2 separate regions of the Homo sapiens genome follow, and region 2 is linked to region 1. The links are contacts of gene promoters, found by promoter capture Hi-C in blood cells and fetal thymus (Javierre and others, 2016). All regions are on one chromosome and are shown on one strand. The core of a region is centred on a gene start or on the middle of the fragment in contact, and the rest is flanking DNA. Distances in the headings are between cores, read along the strand shown.

Region 1 (7,361 bases), core at 1,947-4,446:
AGATGGAGCCTTCTCATCCTCAGAAACCACACTGGTTAAATCAGTGGATCTTAACTTTGGCTGCATATCGGCATCACCACAGGAAGTTTCAAAAATTCCAGTGCCTGAGTCCCACCACAGGGATTCTGATTTAATGGGTTTGGGGGGCGGCTTGGCTTTGGGGATTTTTAAAAGCTCCCTAGGTGATTCCTAGAGTCAGCCAACTTTGCAAACCATGGAGTTAAAAACCCAAAACACAAACTTATTTGCTTCGGTCCTGAAGGATCTCAGCTGACTGTAGTTGGCCTGGTTATTGTGAGCAAATCTGATTAAGGTCACAGTTCTTAGCAGCTGTGTGATCTTGGGATGGTCTCTAACCTCTGGGATGCTCCTCTGTAGAATTGTGATGCTGTGAAGATTGGATGAGCTAAAGAGCTGGGCATGGGGTGGAGGCCACCAGTAGGCGACAGCTATTGAGTGTCTTGCATGACTATAGGATGGCAAATAATTCTCAATATGCAGTTTATGGGACTGATGTTGTTTTTCCTGGGGTGGGGATAATAAGGGGTCTGAGGAAAGATTTGGAACCCCTTGCTTGGTTCCTCCCTGGTTCTGTTGGTGACCCAAGAGGTCCCAGAGCTCCTTGCCACAGGCTCCACAGGATGTTGGCCCCACACCAGGCAAGGCTCAGCAGAGATCACTGCTGCTCCCACGGAGAGTGCACCGGGCCACTGGGGCATGCATGGCTAATGCAGGGTGGCAGATTTGAAACCAAACACTGGTGCCTGCAGCCACAGGAGAGAGTAAGGAGAGACAGAAGGAGAGCTGCACTGATGGAGTCTCGGGGCCCAGTTCGTCTTGACAATAGCCATGGGACCCCAGGCTGTCTAAGGCCTCAGTGTCCCTTCCACTTGCCTCTCCACTGTTCTGGTAGTCATGTTTCTGTCTTCGATGGCATCAGTTGTAACAAATGACACATAAGCCAGTAAAGCAATGGTTAAAGCAGATGTTTTAGTGGAGACAGAGTGGGTTTGATTCATGGTGGCAATCCTTCCCAGCTGTGTTACCTTGGGCAAGTAGCTTAACCTCTCTGAGCCTCTATACAGCAAGGATAACAGCCTATTCATGGAGCAGTTTGGAGGGTGAAGTGATACAATGGCATGATGTGCTTAGCCCAGCGCCTGGCAGAGTGATGCTCACCGAAGACAAACTATGGTACTTCTGTCCTGAAGAAACCCTGTGGTCACCACTAGAATTTGATCTGGATCTCTAAATCACCCTTGGAGGCAGCCAGTGGTACCCTGTTTTATAGATGAGAAAACTAAGGCTCAGAGAGGCCAAGCTACTTGTCTCGATACACAGAGAGTAAGCAGCAAAGCCAGGACCTTGGACGCCAAATTCAATGCTCTTTCTACCTCTCCACTGTCTTCAAGGTGCAAAATGTCTTTTAGTTGACAAAGCAGGGTTATGTCCCTTTTCTCTCTCTAGATAGTCAAGAAACCCCAATGAAGAGGCTGTGTGAGCCCATTTTATAGATAAGAACATGGAGGCCTGCTAACTTGAGGACTCCTAGCCTACGTGAAATGCAAACTCTCACTGGGGAGCCCCAGCCTGGCCCTAGCAGCTTTGGGCTTAAGCTAGAGTCCACGGGCCTGTCTGGCCTCAGGCTGGTCTCTGTTTAGGAGAGGACCAGCTGGTGGCCTTCCCTCCTGTGCCCCCACTTCCTCATTACTGTTCAAGCTGCTGGGTTCCGAACACATTCAGAACCCTCTTGGTTCAGCATTTAATGGGATGCCAGGGCAGAGGAGAAGAGAGGCTTTCAAAATAACGACTGGCAAAGGAAAAACAGGCATTCAGTAAAAGTGACAAGCACGGTCACTGGATTTCCTGACCCTTCTGGCTTTTTTCCTCTCCATGGGGAAAGTGCCTATTTGTATTTCACTGGCCAGCAGCCAAAGAACAGTGTATCTCGGAGCCACCTCCAGATCTCCCAGCAGCTTCTGGTCGATGCTCGGAAGCCCCCAGCAGAGCTGCTTGTCCATTTGGATGCAATGACTCAAGGCTGACTTCCTGAACATTTTGCCTCAGGTCCGTTGCAACTTCCTACCTCGGAAGGAGAATGTTGGGTGGACATTTAGGATTTTGAACCAATTAAATAGCAGAGTCCAGGGCTAGACATGGAGGATACTTAGCAAGGTTAGTGGACAGCATTGTGCAGTTGATCTGGAACAAGCATCAGCAGACCTGGAATCCCTGCTGGCTCATTAGTGGCATGATGTCAGCCACTTTACCTGGCAGATGCCTCTGCAGGGAAAATTCCAGCAGGTACTCACCACCAACAGAACTAAGAGGGCCACTCAGGATCTAAGCCACCCAGAGATGCAGGCGTGGGGGCTGCCTTGAAGCTCAAAGCTACTTGGGTTTGGTAGCAGTTTCAAAAAGTGACACACCCAATCCTACAGCTCTTGATTTCTGGCCCAATCTCAGACTTGCCTTGTATTGCAAAGTCCTAAAGCCAAATTCACCAGAAAGGCAGGCCCTTCACACGTTAACCTGCGTGCACTATGTGCCATGCACTGTGCTAAGCACCTAGCAGCCATATCTCATGAAATATGAAATTCTTACGACAGACTGAAGAGGTGGGTACTGTTATTATCCTCTTTTTACAGTCAAGGAAACTGAAGTTCAGGGAAGTCATCTGATTTCCCCAAATCACACAGCCGGTGAAGGAAAGAGCTTGAATCTGAGCCAAACTCTGAAGCTGAAATCTGTGTTCTGTCTGTTGTGCTGAGAATTAAACCCCCATACTGTGTGATAATTGACTTAGGTGAGGCTATATCATGCATTAATTCAGATTCACCTGAGGATGCAGCAGAAAAAGATCAACAAGAATGCAGGGCTATGCCAGGGGGCTCGCTTCTTTGTCTCCTACCCTTTTCCGAAACCCAGGGTGCCTGGAGGCATCTCCCGTATCATTTTATGGATGCTGGGACATAGCCCGGGTACCTAAACTCAAAGCACTCAGGTCCACTGACAGCCCACTTCAGTGTACCGGGTCTGCCCTCCTTCCCTTCCACCTCCTCCCGAACGGCACCGCTCTCAACAGCAGATGAAACAGAACAGAGATGGTCTTACTTCTCAGGTCGAGTCCTTGGGAAGGGAAGTCAGGAGCGTGTTGCTGGGTTCCTCACTCCACCGGGAAGTCCCAGACTAGCAAGGAGGGCTGCCTCTAGAGGGCGGTTCTTAAACCCCTGGGAACGGAGGCTGCTGAAATGTGCCAACAAGTGAGACAGCCTTTGCATTCCTGTTTATTCTGGTATCAATAAAAAGGAACTGTTACTATAGTAACAGATATTCCACTTGGTGCACGGCCACTTCCACGATGCGGAACATCATGTCCAAGCCACACGCTTGAGAGGCACAAATAAATACCCATTTTGTCAGATTGATGAGGAATAAGAAACACGCCAAGCTTTGTTCTGAGCAAGGCGGCTCACGTAAAGGAATTTCCCTTGTTTCTTATGGGAGGGTCAGGCAAGAGTGGATTCCAGCACTTCCCCATGGGAGGGGAAGCCAAGCTTCCTGAGGCAGTGGTGTGGATTCTTCAGGAGAAAATGGCTCTGGGGGGAAAAGGGTGGGGTGTAAAGGGAGGGGAAACTGCTCAGCATTGGGTCAGTTCTTAATTATCCACGAATGGGTCAGAAACTCCGTACACAGCGTTTTCCTGATACCTTGAATGTCATTGGAACTTCACAGAGGAGCCAACGGAAGAGCGTGGGAGAGGGGATGCACCGTGTCTGGGTCTCAGCAGGCTCATGTGTTGGCCCTGGCTCCAGCACCAGCCCCTTCAGCAGCCACTCAGTGTCTCTGTGTCTTGGTTTCTGTGTTTGTCAAATGTGGAGCATACCAGGGTGGTTGGGAGATGACATGGATGAGATGACATTAGTGAAGCACATAGTCAAAGCTCAGCATATAGGACTTTTCTCCAAGAGAGACCTGGACTCTACGTGATCTGAGGCCAGAGCCCAGCATGGTGCATTTTGCCTGGCAGAATATGTGTTCCATAAGTAGTGGCTCAATGAATGAACATGTGAATGTAAAATATAAAAGTAGGCCAGGCATGGTAGCTCATGCCTGTAATCCCAGCACTTTGGGAGGCTGAGGTAGGCAGATCATTTGAGGTCAGAAGTTTGAGAACAGCCTGGCCAACATGGTAAAACCCTGTCTCTACTAAAAATACAAAAATTAGCCAGGGGTGGTGGCACACACCTGTAATCCCAGCTACCTGGGAGGCTGAGGCAGGAGAATTGCTTGAACTTGGGAGGCAGAGTTTGCAGTGAGCCAAGATTGGGCCACTGCACTCCAGCCTGGGTGACAGAGCAAGACTGTCTCAAAAAAACCCAAAAAACAAACAAACAAAAAAACCCAAGAAAAGTAAAAAATGTATGTAGATCCTTAAGGCCAGCCTGGATGCTTATAGATAATGGAGGCATTCTCCTAATTTCAGAATCAGCTTTCACTTGAAAAGCTGGAAGTGTTTTCTATCGTTTAGTGTCATCCTAGTTCCCCAGTGAGGAAGCTGGGGTCTACCAGTTAGACCAGGCCTCCACCCCAACTTTACTTTCTCATGGAGTCTTGGTTGGCTAGAAGGTGATGAGGCCTAGGACATGCATCACAGGTGAATGGAGGCTTTAACAAGGCAACCTTGTGTCTTCTTTGGCCTATATTATTTGTTCATTTAACAAACATTTATTTAATTCCTACTGTGTTCCTGGCACTGTTCTAAGTGCTGGGGGTACCATGTGAATGACACAGGTAATATCCCTGCTGTCAGGGAACCTACCTTCAAGGGGGACACACAGTAAAGAAGGGGACATTCAGGATGACGTCAGGCAGTGAGGAATGCCGTGATGAACGCAAGGCTGGGTGAGGTGAGAGCGGGTGGTGTTTTAGGGTAGCAGAATCACAAGGAGTCAGTTGTGTGAAGTCTGTACACATGGGAGAGTCTTCGTAGGGTGGGAAGAGCCAGTGGAAAGGCCCAGACTGGGTGGATCCTGGTGTGATGTAAAGGCAGGCTGGGTGCCATCTTGGGAGTGAGGGAGGTGGGAGACAGGGGTGGAGTGGGAGGGACAGGGCAGGCATGTCCAGGGAGTCTTGGCCACGCTGACCATTCTCGAGCCACTTAAACTAAGAGGGTCCTAAATTCTTGGGTATAAAACAATTTTCTGGAAACAATGTGTGGTCCCTTTTTTTCTTCTTCCCCAATTCTGCATTTCTTGAGGCACTATGAATGGTAGCCCCCTCAGCCTCCCACCCTGCTCTGCCTTAACTTCCCCAAACTCTCCTGGTAGAAGAGGACAGCTAGATTCTTGTCAAACCACTCTTTGCTGACCCTGGTTCCTTGCACACATCCTCCTGCTCTGCAAAGAAGTATTTTGAATATTTCCTAGGGTCTTTGGTGGCTCAGATGAACCAATCCCAGTGCCTTCTAACAGTTGGAGAGTAAGAAGGATCCTGGAGCGGGGGAACTTCTGACAGCTCCTGCTCATCCCCGGAGAAGACAGAAGCCCATCACCTGGTACACTTCAGAGGAACACGCACCTGACAGCCAAGGAGAACTGGGCAGTAGTCCTCGGATGTTGGGCGTCATTTTCCGTGGGCAGTTGGGAGTCACTGTGCTTCTCCCACAAAAACTCTTCTCACAGTCCAACTTGTATACAAACCCATCAGACTGCTAGCCCCAGGGCAGGTACCTACCTATCTTCCTGTCCCAGTACTGAGGGGCTCAATAACTATTGTTAACCTGAAGACACCGAAAACCTTGACAGCGCTGAGCTTGTTACAGCACCATCTTGCTGTGTGTCCATGTGCAGGTGCAACTGTACGTGAGATCAGCGGCCAACCACCACCCTTTCCCAGGCCACACTCCATCAGCAAGAGACTATGCTACACCCCAAGACGAGATGCAGCCAATAAACATGTCTATGTATTGACCTGAAAAAGATGTCTTCTACATATTCAATGAAAAATCATATGTAGTAGGATCTCTTTTTTTTTTCAAGATAAAAAAGTTGGTATATGTATAAAGAACTAGTGTGGAGGCAAATACACTAATCTGTTAGCAGAGGTCAACTCTAGATCAGTGTATCTCAAATACTATTACTAGATGTCATTTGAAATGAGTGCTAAAAATGCTCTTGCTTTTTTTTTTTCCTAGGGAGGAACCTAGGAATCTGGATTTTTTTTTTTTTTTTTTTTTTGAGACAGAGCATTACTCTGTTACCTAGGCTGAATGCAGTGGTGCCATAATGGCTCACTGCAGCCTTGACCTCCTGGGATCAAGCGAGCCTCCCACCTCAGTCTCCCAAGTAGCTGAGACTACAGACACATGCCACCACACCCAGCTAATTTTTTATTTTTTTTAGAAATGAGATCTCACTGTGTTGCCCAGGCTGGTCTTGAACTCTTGGCCTCAAGTGTTCCTCCTGCTTCAGCCTCCCAAAGTGCTAGGATCACAGGAATGAAGCCACCATGGAATCTGGATTTTAAACATACCTCTCTGGGGGCTCATTTATATTAAAGAGTTTGAGGACCATTGTTCTACAGCGTAAAATTACAGGCCCTTCTCCTTTGTCACTGCATTTCTGTGATGTTTGCGGTGTTAAAAGAAAAAAAAAGGCCCTAGCATATATTACTTTTGTTATCAGAAAAAGACTCTAAGAATTAAAAATGTGAGAAAGAGCAACATTTCCCAAACAACTGTAGTTAGTTAGGAATCACATCTGGCTCAGTTATGTCATCAGAATATGGGAAAACAGAGGCCCTCTGAACAAACAAGCCTTTGAGGCGTTTACTCCAGGTAATTGCATAATTCAAGCCACAGTCGCTGTCTCCTGCCTCCTTCTGTGTGGCTTTCCCTGGAGGTCTTCCTATTCTTCCAAAAGGAAGGACTCTGGGAAGCCAGGGGCCTGGGGATCTGCATACTTGCTCGGCCCCCTGGTGAGCTGGGGCATCAAAGGGGGAAGCCCAGGGGCTGGGCACACCCCTCCTGTCTTCCCTCCCATCCCCTTTTAACTCTGATTTCTTGGGAACCAGAGGAACCCAAAGGAAGGGGGACAGGGAAGACCAGGGGAGGCAGTCCTGACAGGGAGGTGGAGAATTTTCCTGCATCTATAGTGGGCTGGGCTGCAGTGTGCAGAAAATAACCTCCCCAAACAGCTTTTGTTTCATTTTTGCCCCCTTTCTCCAAGCCCATGGGCGCCTAGAACAGCTTATCTGGGCCCACGAACATCAAACAAGAAGTTTCCATGGCAACTTAAAACTTCCTCCTCAGCCCTGTATTCAGTCTAAATCTCCAAGGCCCCTTTTCAAGGCCTCAATGG
Region 2 (7,361 bases), core at 4,198-6,697, 270 kb before region 1:
ACCTTGCTGATATCCTCTCCCTGCCCCCATACTCTGGATATGAGTGTTGTTTGTTCCCAACAATATTCTCCTTTGGGAGAAGTCTCGGCTCAGTCTCATTGCCTCTCTGGGGTCTGGCATGGAAAGCAGTCAAGAGATGTGGCCTGGCCAGGTGCAGTGGCTCACGCCTGTAATCCCAGAATTTTGGGAGGCTGAGGCGGCTGGATCACCTGCAGTCAGGAGTTTAAGACCAGTCTGGCCAACATGGCAAAACCCCTTCTTTACTAAAAATACAAAAAGTTTGCCAGGCATGTTGGTGCACACCTGTAGTCCCAACTACTCAGGAGGCTGAGGCACAAGAATTGCTTGAACCCGGGAGGTGGAGGTTGCAGTGAGCCAAGATTGCGCCACTGCACTCCAGCCTGGGCAGCACAGCAAGACTCTGTCTCAAAAAAAAAAAAAAAAAAAAAAGAAAAACAAATGTGACTGCTCCTAGCTGCTGCTTCAGAAGCCAGCCCTGAAGCTCTGCTGGGGTCTGCCCAGGCATCTTTTAAAGGGATTGCTTACTGGCCAGGGGCTATACCTGCCTTCAAACACATTTTGGGTCTAATATTTATAATAAATGCTGAATGTAGGCCCCCTTATTTACTTTCCAAGCCCTGGATATTGTTCTTAGGACCATGGGTTGCTTAGGTAACTACCACCGTTCTAAAATGGTGGCTGCAGATTTTAACACGTGCAGGCCCCAGCCTTCTGCTTTGGAGGAGCCATCACCTTTCAGCTCTTCCAGCATCACCCTTCAACCACAGACTGGACCTTCTCATCAGCCTTTTCTCCCTCCCCAACCCCAAACTGGGTGCTGTTCTTGCAATTTCTCCATTTCCTGAAAGGAGACAAAAAAGTAGAGGGTTTTTTTTAGAGGGACGGGGCTGGTCACAGATAGGGCAGTGGAGATATCCTCAAATTACCTGCCAGGTGACAGTCCTGGGGCTGGCTCTTCTGGTGTCCCCAGCTGCCGCAGGGCTCTGGGGCCCAGTATTTGCTCCCTGGGGCTGGTACCAACCAGGGTGTGGACTTGGGGTTGCCTGTGCTGGCAGTGGGAGGAGAGTCTTGTGACCATCATCAGCCTAGTCTGGCAGAGGGACAGAGGGAGAGGACAGGTGACTGCTCGGGTCTCCTTTCAGCAACAGGACAGTCCCTCTCTCTTGGCTCCTGGAGGAACCTTCCCTTCATTGGTTTCTGGATCTTAGGGTCTTTAAATCCTCAAGGCAATGAACAGGCATCTGAGGCCATACCAGGAGCTGCAGCAGGGGGTGGAAGAAGGAAGAGTTCGTAGGGGCAGTAAGGGGGTAACAATTCCAATGACCAAAGGCCAAAGCTGGCTGGGTCGGGGGCAGGTGACTTCCTGAAGGACAACTGGAAAGGTGGCTGCCAAGACAACCCCTCCCCAAAGCTCTCAGGCCAGACGTGATTTGAATTCAGAAGCGTTTCGACCTGGAAAGGTATCACAGTGTGTATACCATGTATCATGTGATGCCCTCTGCAGGGTCTGGGGCCACCACACATGGTCAAATAAATGCATTTGTATTTCTGCCATGCAATGTATGTGTAGCCACAGTAAGTGGGACAAAAGCTGTAAGCCTCACCTTAGTTCAGATTAAGCATTGGCGCTGGATGAAGATACTTGGTTTCCAGTTGTTTTTTTTTTTTAGGATTTCAGATAAGGGATGGGAGCCTGCTTTCTAGGTCCGGCTCTCCTGCCTTGGGGGTGGGCTGAGGAGGCATTTTTTTCTTCCAGCATGGAAGGCGCAGCATATAGATAGGTCCATAGATCCCTCTTGTGCCTAACTATGTAAGTAGCAGGTCCTGATTTTTATTTAATAATTATTAGTGTTACCAAAATGATGCTCTGTCACTTTAAAAGAAATCAAACAAAAAGATTGCTTAAAAAAGGAGAGTCTCCTACACCCTCTGCACAGCCCCACCCTTCCCCCATCAGTCAGTCCATTGGGGTTTCTGTGCATTTGCACACATACATACGGGTAAGCAGTGTAAAACTGGTTGGCTTTGTGGATTTTTTTTTTATAACACAATTGGGGCTATGCTAGACATTACTGTTGCCCACTCCTCCTGCTCTTTTCCCTGGAGCTCTTCTAGGTCCAAACCCACAGAGCCCTCAGGTTCCTATAACAGGGATGCAGAGTCCTCCAGAGAAAACGGGGTACAAATCTCTTTGTAAGGACCTCTTTGAACCCCCAGGAGAAGGTCTCTGAATTTGAAGAAAGGATTTAAGGCCCCTCCAGAAACGGGCTGCTTTATTACAGGGTCGTTATCCCCTCCCCAAAATCTCCCTTCCTGGGGCCCTGGAGCCATTTTTTTAGGAGGGAGATTTCTAAGATCACTTCCAAGGAAAGTTTCCTCCGTCATTTAAATACAGTTCAGAAATGCTGGGTGAGACAAAGTTAAACAGCATGGCTCCAGCTATAACCCCCAGACAAGCAGGGGAATGACTGAAGGAGAAAAGATGTCCTCCAGTAGCTGCTGGCAGAGGGGTGGGTGCTGGGGCAGGGGACCAGGCTGTCTTGCTGTTCCCTGGGTGATGGGGGTGGTTTTGATGGTCTAGGAAAGGGCTTTTAGTCTTTTTTACCATTGTCTGGTGCACTGCCCCCAGAGTTCCTGCCCGAAACGGGTGTGCTTATGTCCTTCCCAGGTCCCCTTTACTGACTGCTGCATCCACCCCCCACCTGCTGGGTTGGCTGCCCAGTTGAGCCACCCTCAGATGACTGGAGGTGCCTGCGAAGCTATACCTTTTCTCCTCTTATGTCCAAGTGTTGCCAGATAAAATACAGGATGCCCAGTTAAATGTTAATTTCAGATAAACAACAAATACATTTTTAGTATAAAGATGTCCCACTCATTGTTTATCTGAAACTCAAATTTAACTGGGAATTCTGTATTTTTGCTTGTTTTTGCAGAGAAAAAACAAACAAGATAGGTGTGGTCCACAGCTCCCTCTTGTGCCTAACTACGTAAGTAGCAGGTCCTGATTTTTTATTTAATAATTATTAGTGTTACCAAAATGATGCTGTCACTTTAAAAGAAATCAAACAGCCGGGCACGGTGGCTCACACCTGATCCCAGCACTTTGGGAGGCCGAGGCAGGCAGATCATCTGAGGTCGGGAGTTAAAGACCAGCCTGACCAACATGGAGAAACCCTGTCTCTACTAAAAATGCAAAATTAGGCCAGGCGCAGTGGCTCACTCCTGTAATCCCAGCACTTTGGGAGGCCGAGGCAGGCAGGTCATCTGAGGTTGGGAGTTAAAGACCAGCCTGACCAACATGGAGAAACCCTGTCTCTACTAAAAATGCAAAATTAGCCAGGCGTGGTGGCGCATGCCTGTAATCCCAGCTACTCTGGAGGCTGAGGCAGGAGAATTGCTTGAACCCAGGAGGTGGAGGTGGAGGTGAGCAGAGATCGGGCCATTGCACTCCAGTCTGGGCAACAAGAGCGAAACTCCGACTCAAACAAAACAAAACAAAACGAAAAACAAAAAACAAATTAGCCCCGTGTGATGGTGCATGCCTGTAATCCCAGTTACTTGGGAGGCTGAGGCAGGAGAATAGCTTGAACCTGGGAGACAGAAGTTGCAGTGAGCTGAGATTGTGCCATTGCACTCCAGCCTGGGCAACAAGAACAAAACTCTGTCTCAAAAAAAAAAATCAAACAAAAAGATTGCTGAAAAAATGAAAGTCTCTTACACCCTCTGCACAGCCCCACCCTTCCCCCATCAGTCAGTCCACTGGGATTTCTGTGCATTTGCACACATACATACGGGTAAGAACTCCTGGGTTCAAGCAATCCTCCTGCCTCAGCCTCCAAAAGCACTGTGATTACAGACATGAGCCGCCGTGCCTGGCCTATCCTATATTTTTATTTGCTAAATCTGGCAACCCTATAGGTAGCAGCCAATGACACCTATAGAAGGCTTGGCCCCCTTGCCTCAAAGCCTAGAAGCTTCCTTAGTATCATTTATGCTCCAGGACTCCCCATGGGATCCAGCTGAGGCTAGACTCAGCTGAATCTGTTACTGAAACACCAAGTGTTGCTTCTAGGTCCTGCTGCTCACCAAAGAGAAAGCTAATCACTGAAACAATGAATATTGCCAGGGAAGAAGGCTTTCTTTGAGAGCTGCTGCTGTGGACATGGGAGATCAGTCTCAAATCCATCTCCCTGACTGACTAAAATTAGGAGTTTATACAGCAGAAATATAACAAATGCAGGAAAACAGGAATCAGGGAAGGATAAGGAAGGGGAGTTGGTCAACAGAAAGCAGGTCGTGGGAGACAGGCAGTCATGAAGGGTGAAGGGTCTGGACTGTCATTGTCCAAATGCAGTGATCTGGTGAGTTTCAGCTCCTTGATACTACCTGGGAAGCCTCATGGTTGGTTTACTGAGAAAGGAACTCAGATAAGACAAATGTAACTTCTCAAATTTTAAGATGAGAAGGTCAATCTCTACATATACTCAAAAGAAACCGTAAGCATCAGTTCTGTGGGATGATTGGACCGGTTTCAAATCCACATCTTTGCTTGGCTTCTTCTCCTGCCCTATCTTGCTTCCCTCCTCCCTTACAGATTTCACTTGGGGGCCATCTCCCAGTAAATCACTTCCGTGAGGGTCTCTCTCTCAGGCTTGGCTTCTAGGGATTCTAAAGCACTGCCTGCTTTTCAGAGTTTCTTGTTTGGAGATGACGCTTGAGTTGATGACACTTGAGTTGCCTCAAAGGAGCAGCTCCCAGACTGGTCTTCCACATGGGAGGGATGGAATGCAGCTTTTTAGGCTCTGGAGCCTCTCACCACCTTAGATAAATGACTTAGCTTCATTTTCTTCATCTGTGAAAAGTGGTAATTATAGTGACATTGCATGGTTGATGGAATAATGTGAGCAAGTTAGCTGGTACTTGGCAAATCTCCCTAAACTATGTGATCTTATTCTCGAAACAGAAACAATGGCTACAGTTCCATAGGTTTTAACTTCTGATCATTTTCACTTCCTTTGTCCTATCTCCACAATCTGCTGACATAGGGGGTGTTTTCCATTAAATCAATGGAGAACAGGGGGACTGGAATCTCACTTGGACCCTTCTCTCTTGCCTTTTCTTCCCCAAGTTGAGAAAGCTCCTCAGCTTTAGAAAAATCCATTTGGCACCAATAAGTAAGGCAGGGAGGGGAGCCACACAGCAGAGGGGAAGTGTGGACTTAACTCATTCTTGGCTGCCGTACCTTTCAGGGACATAAAATAGAGACCGACCCCAACAACTTTGCTCTGAAACACAGAGGGTACCTGAAATGGTCCTCTTAAGAACTAACTGGCTCCACCCAATGCAGTACAGGGTAACTTTCATAAAGACTGAGGCAGCTAACCTGGGCAACATAGCAAGATCCCCTCTCTAAAAATAAAAATCAAAAAAATTAGCCAGGTGTGGTGACACATGCCTGTAGTCCCAGCTCCTCTGGAGGCTGAGGCAGGAGGATCACTTGAGCCCAGGAGTTTGAGGCTGCAGTGACCTATGTTTGCACCACTGTACTCCAGCCTGGACCACAGAGTAAGACCCTGTCTCCAAAAAAAAAAAGAAAAAAAGACTGAGGCAGCCTTGTGTGTTTTGATTTGGAGCAATTTTAGATACATCGTCAAGAGGTAAAAGCCCCCATATCATATTTTTCAGGGGACACTTAAGAAACTCATACTAGTTGTTGCTCCTGGAGAGGGGAGAGGCTGACAGGGGAAGAGGTGGAAGGGAGACTCACTTTTTAATATCTATCCCTTTATGTCATTTGAAATGTATGCTGTAAGCCTACAGTACCTATTCAGAAGATAAAATTTAGGCATGGTGCAGTGCCTCACACCTGTAATCCCAGCATTTTGGGAGGCCAACGCAGAAGGATCGCTTGAGCCTAGGAGTTCAAGACCAGCCTGAGCAACATGGTGAGACCCTGTTTCTACAAAAAAATTAAAAATTAGCTGGCCATGGTGGCATGCACCTGTAGTCCCAGCTACTTGGGAGGCTGGGGTGGGAGGATCGGTTGAGCCTGGGAGGTTGAGGCTACAGTGACCCATGATCACATTATTGTACTACAGTCTGGGTGACAGTGAGACACTGTCCAAAAACGATTTTTTAATATAAAATTTAGTTGAAAAACAAAAGTTTTTTTTTGTTTTTTGTTTTGTTTTGTTTGTTGGCAGAGTCTCGCTCTGTCATCTCGGCTAGAGTGCAGTGGCGTGATCTCAGCTTACTGCAACCTCTGCCTCCTGGGTTCAAGCAATTCTCCTGCCTCAGCCTCCCGAGTAGCTGGGATTACAGGTGCGCACCATCACACCCAGCTAATTTTTGTATTTTTAGTAGAGACAGGGTTTCGCCATGTTGGCCAGGCTGGTCTTGAACTCCTGACCTCAGGTGTTCTGCCCACCTCGGCCTCCTAAAGTGCTGGATTACAGGCCTGAGCCACAACACCCAGCCAAAAAACAAGTTTTTTGTCTTTATCATTCAAAGGCATCTCTTTTATCCTCCGCTCTGAATTAATAAGACAGCATGAGAGAATTCAGGCAACTGGGAAGACACTTCATTTTCAGGGTTTGTTGCAGCAGGGTGAAAATTATCTATTGTTCCTTGAAGTTCAAAATACAGGAATTGCTCTGGTTTTCCTGGGCCACCTGGCAGGATACATTTGCCAGGCAGCTGGCTTACAGGAACCCTCTCCCATTACTGAGGGTTTCCTGGGGTGCCAGACACTTTATACCATCAACTCTTTTTCCCTCAACTCTGTGAGGTAGATGCTAATAATCTCTCCATGTGACAGATGAGGGAGGTAGGTAAGTGGCAGAGGATGCATTTGAAGCAAGTTCTGGCAGCTTCTGAAATCAAGCTTTTTTGAGAAAGATAATACTTGGGTCTGTGGGGTCTGTGTTTGCTTTCTCCACCTCTTCCCACATCTGGAACAAGCCCTGTCTCCTCTGAAGGAAGAAGAAAGTAGGAACCACAGAACTGGAGAGCATGGCCAAGGTTGAGGACTGAAGCTTCTGGAAACAACACAGTGGGATTTTGAGAAAATAATTGAGGAAGGAGATCCCCGCTGACTCAACTGTCCTGTGCAAGGCAACCCTTTGCCCCCCAACCCAAGCAAAACCAGCACATCCATTTATGAACAAATGCCTTCAGTAAATAGATGTTGGGTCACCATTGGGTACCAGGAACTGGGATGCAGTGGTGAGAAACACAGACAAGGCCCCATCCTCATGGGGGTTACACTAAAGTTTCCCTTCCCACTGCAGCCCCTCAATTGGTGGTAATACAGTGCAGTATGGAGAGCACTGGCTAGAATC

Evidence for each region. The method cuts DNA at HindIII sites, captures the fragments that hold promoters and counts their contacts. A CHiCAGO score of 5 or more calls a contact.
Region 2: a contact is called between a fragment that was not itself captured here and the fragment with the promoter of FAM107A in region 1, in 1 of 17 cell types (naive B cells). The highest score is 5.3, in naive B cells.

Annotation. Positions count from the first base shown.
Region 1 is chr3:58,574,195-58,581,555 of GRCh38, forward strand. It overlaps FAM107A (family with sequence similarity 107 member A), which reads right to left and starts at 3,197. Exons shown (of 4, transcript NM_001076778.3): 1 at 3,115-3,197. LOC107984079 (a long non-coding RNA gene) reads left to right here. Exons shown (of 3, transcript XR_001740724.2): 3 at 5,430-5,981. The HindIII fragment of the contact is 9,093 bases long and covers 1-3,449 here.
Region 2 is chr3:58,297,313-58,304,673 of GRCh38, forward strand. No RefSeq gene overlaps it. Among named protein-coding and RNA genes, the nearest start is that of RPP14, 5.3 kb to the right of the region's middle. The HindIII fragment of the contact is 2,909 bases long and covers 3,994-6,902 here.